Regions from separate parts of the Homo sapiens genome. Here region 2 is linked to region 1. Evidence: promoter capture Hi-C in human tissues and cell types (Jung and others, 2019). All regions are on one chromosome and are shown on one strand. Each heading gives the region's core, a stretch centred on a gene start or on the middle of the fragment in contact. The rest is flanking DNA. Distances are from core to core; before and after follow the strand shown. Region 1 holds the start of CLNK (cytokine dependent hematopoietic cell linker). Region 2 overlaps CLNK (cytokine dependent hematopoietic cell linker).

Region 1 (3,124 bases), core at 264-2,763:
AGTTAAAATTGGGTAATTAGGGTGAGCCATCATTCACTGTGACTCCTCTCCTGATAAGAAGGGGAAATTTGGACAAAGACACAGGGAGAATGCCATGTAAACACAAAAACAAGGATACAAAGACACCCACAAGCCGGGGATAAAGGCCTGGAACAGATCTTCTCCTCATGGCTCTCAGGAGGATCCAACCTTGCCGACTCCTTGATCTCAGACTTCCAGAGGCCAGACTGTGAGACAATACAATTTGACCTTCTGTTTTGTTAGCCACTCAGGGCTCAGTCCTTTGTTATGAAAACCCCAGAAAATTAATATGGGTCCAGACCAAAAGAAGTGAGCAAGTGACACACACAATTATGAACTAAATAAAGTGGTTACTGCTTTAAGCCCCTAATGCAGCAAAAGCTAATTAATAAAGTGGTTAAACTACTCGAGTCTCCCTAGTCTTCAGTTTTCACAATTACAAAATGGGATTTTACATATGTTCCTTACATGGTTATTAGTAAGATTAAGGAGGATAATGCTTGCAAGTTGCTTAGCAATGTAACTGACTCACAATTAGCATTCAAAGAGTGCTTATTTTCATGTTTTCCTTGGGGTGTCTGTTAAGTCAAAACCAGAGTTATTTACCCAAGAAAATATAAACTTCTACCTTTGAATTTATTGTAAATAATGTTGGAGTTTGTTATGGAATTCAACATCAATTTATATAAAACTAGAATGTCAAGTCTCCAGAAGAGGAAACAGGCACTCGGCAAGATCAGCTTAAATGGACCAAGATTAAGGCCGAAAGAAAATGTATTAAGCAACTGATATGTGCCCAAACATTACTGCATGCCTTTATTTACAATATTTTGTTTATTTATTGAAATACTTCTAAAATATAAATATTATCCTTCCATCACAATTGAGGAAATATCATTTCCTCAATGAAGGAAATATAATCCTCAATTATCCCTCATTTTTTAAAAAAGTTTCTAAAATACAAATATTATTATCACTCAAACTACTTGAGAAATAAACTTCAAAGTGCCCAAGATCCTATAGCTAATAATTAATACAGCAAGAATAAGAGGCAGGCATTTCTCCTTTAGTTCCCAGGTTCTTTCCTTAACACCTGGTCCATGTGTCTGGGATGGTCTCAGGAAGCCATTGCAAAATTAAGCCAAAAGATGATAGTTAATGTCCACTATTCATATAAAGTGAGACTCGCAAAACCCACCTTCCATGCTTGAGTGTTGCCCAGCAGTTCCTTTTATTGTGTTCTGGTAACTATGAAGTGCCACATAAGGACACCGTGTGTCTTTAAAAACACCCTTTGCATTGGAAGATTTCAGCCTCTGAAAGCTTCACGTATTGCACTCCAGCCTAAGAAGAGGAAGTCCTGCCAGCCCTCAGGTCAGACCTCTCAGGTCTGTGGCTGCATTTCACAGGAAACCAAGTCTAAAACGGACCTATCAGGAGGTTTTCTGCTGAAGGGCACTGCTTAGCATCGAGAAGAATTCAACCCACCGCCTTACTAATTTCCAGTGCCCCAAGGTCTCTGCACTGCCGCCCCTCCTCACAGGAGACGGACACCTCAGCCTAGATCCCTTGGTGCTCTCCACGCTGTTCAGGTAAACTCATTAGGCCAGTTCTTCTGAGTGAGGATCTCATGGTCATCTCCTTGTCATAAATGATCATCAGGAAAGACCTGAGCAGCAAGTAAAAATGTGTTTCTAAAGTGGAAGTCTGGGCCTTATATATAGCATCAAAGGAGCAAGAAGAAAGCCCTTAACTCAATTGTTAAAGATCCTTTCATTCTTTTGGGAGAAAGAATCAGGATACCTACCCACAGAAAATTAAAAGACTAAATGTTTTCAATCTTCTTTTCCTGGAGCTTGGACTCCCCGACTGTTTGCAACTGAAATCTAAAGACCAGGCCCCATGGCTGGCTTTCCTGGCTGACCTTCATTAAGTAAGCCCTCTAGAAAGAAAGCCTCCATTCAAAGTAGGTCATTCAAAGTATAAGTTAACTCCTGGAGCCCTGTGGAAATATATTTTTAACATTTTCTAAAGTAATACGATTTTCTTTCTGCTTTGGTGTAGAGGAGACTTAGACTTTGGAATCACGCAGACATCCTTCCACTCACAAGAGTAAGGAGCTCAAAAGTGAGGTTAAAGTTGGGGTTAAATTCTTACTCTTGAAAAGTGCCGGGAGTCATCTCTACCAGGCTTTTATTGGATAAAGCAAACAAACTGGAATGAGACAGAAAAGAAAATAACTATCATCAAAATATGGATACTTTGATTTTAAAAGGTGTCGATATGCCTGAACTTTTTATCAATACTGTTTTTATTACTTTACACCAGTGTTACTCATTTGGCTTCTCTGTTATGAGTATTACTTGTCTATTACCTACATGGCTATTTCTCTGGCTGTCTCTGTCTATACTGTGGCGCAGCTCCTCAATAGTGTTGTTCTTTGGATTTCCAGGGGCCTCCCAAACCACCAGGAATAATCATTTCAAATATCAAGAAGACGATGGTAGAGCTGGTTAATTGAAGGCCTACCAGAGAAATGACAGCGCTTCAGAAATCCTCTAAGAAGCTTAAGATACAGTATGCCCTAGAGAAGTAGGAATGGCAACTGGCATTTACTTACCTTCAGCTCCTGCTGACCTAGAGAGCTGGCTATTACTTTCCCTGGTTTACAGGTGAAGAACTTGAGTTCTCTAAGTAATATGTGCAAGGTTGTTCAGTCACTAATGTCAGTAACAGAATTCAGAAGGAAACTGATTTTCCTGGCTGACTGATTGGAATGGTGAACAGTGTTAGTTTGCAGTTTCACAGAGCTCATCCCTAAACTCACTCCTGGGTGGTCTCTGACACCAACCATCTAAATGGTAGTATTTCTTTGTTATTCCCAACAAGCCCTCTCAGATGACTGTATAGGCAAGACCATTTGAAAGCCAGTGCTTATAATCTTCTGTACCATCTGGCCAGCTCTGGCCTGAACACCAGGGGATTCTGTTTCTCGATCACTTTGCCATGAGTCAGGTGCTGTCTTAGAAAGACTGTAGGATTTGACGCCTGATCAAAATGGTGAGGATCCTGACTCTGCCACTTGGACCAGGGATGTTGTTTC
Region 2 (3,124 bases), core at 305-2,804, 50 kb after region 1:
AAAAGCAAATTGCAGAGAACGCGTCTTATGCACCATTTGCATCTCTCTAGCAGCATTCTTCACGATGCCTGATGCTGTGCAGAAGAGCGTAGTCTAGAAGAAAGAACACGGATTTTGGAGACAGGCATTCCTCTCAACCCCAAACCTGCCATCTCCTAGCCATGTAACTTTGGACAAGGTATCTAACCTATAAGCTCTTTCATGTCTTCATCTTTGAGATGGAATAATAACCCAATCCAACCCATTTAATTCATGAGAGGAATTTATTGGCTTAGAAAACTGAGATAGTCTAGAATGTATCTAGATTCATACAGAGCAATATGCAAAGATTTAAAGGACATCAGCAGGTCCCTCTGTCGCTCTCTTCCATTTTTTTGCTGATACTCTGCAGTATCAGCTTTATTTTCAGACAGTCGCTTTCCACATCCAGCACAGATGGTGGAGAGTATCTAAGTATATATCACTGGGAGAATATACTATCCCAAGGAGAGAAAAGGCCTCCTCTCTCTTGGCCAGAGCACGTACTGTACAGCTAAATTCTGGCCAAGAGATTAGTGTCAGAGGTGGACAGGGTCGATCAGTCTCTGCCGTAGGAAACGGGGCAATCTGATTACCCAGGCAGGATCTCCTGACACTTCACTGTCAGGAGAGGCAGAACATGTGACTGAGAGCCCTACCAGTTGAGGAAGTTGCCAGTCACAATGGGGCAGTCAAAATGAGCAACATATGTCTAATACGGAATGTCGGAAACTCAGGAAAAGCAGAAAGCTTCATAAACCTGTTGTAGTATCCAAATTCTCTCACTAAATTCTTGTCAAAATACTGAATGCTTAAATAAGTAAATTAATATAGCACTTGACCAGTTAGTAAAAATGTCATCAATCTAGAAACCAGGTTAGAAGATGCTTCATAAGATTGTTATCTCTTTTGAAAGGGGAAATAGCCAAAGGGCTGTTATAATGGGAAAAGCCCTACACCTGGAATCAGGAGGGCCAGGATGCCCACCTGCTCTTCAACTAAGGAGCCATGCAAGGGGGAGAGGCCTTTTCTCTCTCTGGTCCTCAGTTTCTGCCCAGAAGTCCCAGTCCCAGTCCAACTGCTCATTTTACCAAAGATTTTTTTTCCAGCAATGATATTCTCAGATCCTTCCTCACCTCTAATGACTTTCACTAATCTGAATGAACCTGAAGGGAAAAGCCAAATTGTTCTCCAGGAGGTTTCCATAGGAGGGAAGCAAAAAAGCTTCAGAAGCCTGAGCAGTGACAGGTATTTCAAAACACCGAAGTTAGACTGGGAAAGCTGGAAATGCAGAGGTGCCTCTGAGAAGCAATAGGGCAACTGAAAGTACTTAGAGTAATTAGCGCTAAAAATTCAGTCTTTCGGTGCACAGTGTAAGCCCAGTAGGCAGAATCCAGGCTGCTGGGTTCTTTGCTCTTCCTTAGATCAAATGTGGAGAGGTAGAAAGCATGAAGCTTGAGTTGCAAGGGAAATGACAGGCAAATGAAATAAAGAGAACTAATTAACTTCAGCCTCATTCCCCAGATTATGAAGAGCCGAGCGCACACAGCAAGCTGGCTGGGAAGCTGGGAAACAGTGGGGTCTCCAGCCTTGCCCACTGACTCGGTGCTAACGTGGGGGACACCTCCCAAAATGACCACCCAGGTGTCTCCTTTTATATCCAAAACTTCCTTTGGAAAAAGGCCACTTTTTCAGGGCAAATATTTAACCTTCCTCCCCTAGGCTCTACTCTGTGCCCCTTCTCTTCTTATGGGCCTTACTAATGACCCTGATGGACTCTGTTTCTCTTCTCTGAGCTCTGGCACCTTAAAAATGCAAGTATTATCCAAGGGGAGTGACTTCAACATGATGACAAAGGGAATGGCTCAGGGTGAGCCCATCAGTCTGCACCCAGCTCTACCTGTGTGATCTTATACAGGGGGCTTAACTATGCTGAATCTCATTTTCCTTGTCTGTAAAATGGGAGTTCTCATTCTGACCTCACTAGTTGGCCTAAGTATTAATGGGAACTCAGTGCATAGCTATTACCATTATGCAACTGAGCACCCAACATTGTTTAGCCTTTTCCAGTACAACCAACCACAAAGGGCTGATATAGGGAACAAATGAAATATTGTATGTGAAAGTGCATAACAATATCTAGCACTGATTATGGCAATAGTATGATTGCCAATTCTATTACCATTATGAGTGACAGATTCTGTCTGCTTCTGTATATACAGCCAAATTACATTTGTACTGTTTGGAATGGTATGGAGCAGTTATAAATGAGTGAAGTACAAGGATGACAGAATTCTTGCTCTTTGGAGACCTTGCAGATAGACACCTACGAGCATTGGTTCTAGGCTCAGATGTTCCTGGATTAGGCATGGGTCTCTGTCAAATTGCGTCTCTCGTTTTCTTCACCTGCAAACCATGATCACAATTAAATTCACCATATAGGGAATGGGAATTAAATGGGAGAATGTAGATGAAGCGTTAACCTATCATCTGGCACAGAGTAAGCGTTCAATAAATCTGTGCTTGCATCAGATGCTCTGGGAAAGCTGCAGCCCATCAGTCGCAACAAAGCTGATGAAGATGGTAACACATGCACAAAGAATAACGCTGTCGACTTGAGAGAATGCACATTCTCTAAACTTAAAAACTTTTAGCTTTGATTCTAGCAGGGAAAGGAATTTCCAAATTTAAAATTTTCCAGGCCAGGTGTGGTGGCTGATGCCGTAATCCCAGCACTTTGGGAGGCCGAGGCAGGCAGATCACCTAAGGTCAGGAGTTCGAGACCAGCCTGACCAAACTGGCCAAACCCCATCTCTACTAAAAATACAAAAATTAGCCTAGTGTGGTAGCACATGCCTGTAATCCCAGATACTCAGGAGGCTGAGACAGGAGAATTGCTTGAACCCAGGAGGCAGAAGTTGTAGTGAGCTGAGATCACGCCCCTGCACTCTGGCCTGGTTGACAGGCCTCAGTCAAAATAAGATAAAATGCTTATCTTTTCTCTGTCTCAAAATAAGATAAAATGCTTCTGTTATGAGTTAGCTAGCAGCCTCATCTGCTTATTTGGGCCAATTTTGAGGTATTTTTAAATAGTATTTAGTTCCTA

Evidence for each region. Contacts are between HindIII fragments. The study calls those that stand out against the background at their distance.
Region 2: a contact is called between a fragment that was not itself captured here and the fragment with the promoter of CLNK in region 1, in 1 of the 25 tissues and cell types used here (pancreas).

What each region holds. Positions count from the first base shown.
Region 1 is chr4:10,683,157-10,686,280 of GRCh38, reverse strand. CLNK (cytokine dependent hematopoietic cell linker) reads left to right here and starts at 1,513. Exons shown (of 19, transcript NM_052964.4): 1 at 1,513-1,613. The HindIII fragment of the contact is 5,072 bases long and covers 362-3,124 here.
Region 2 is chr4:10,632,831-10,635,954 of GRCh38, reverse strand. All of the region lies in intron 2 of CLNK (cytokine dependent hematopoietic cell linker), which reads left to right. Among named protein-coding and RNA genes, the nearest start is that of CLNK, 50 kb to the left of the region's middle. The HindIII fragment of the contact is 3,222 bases long and covers 1-3,124 here.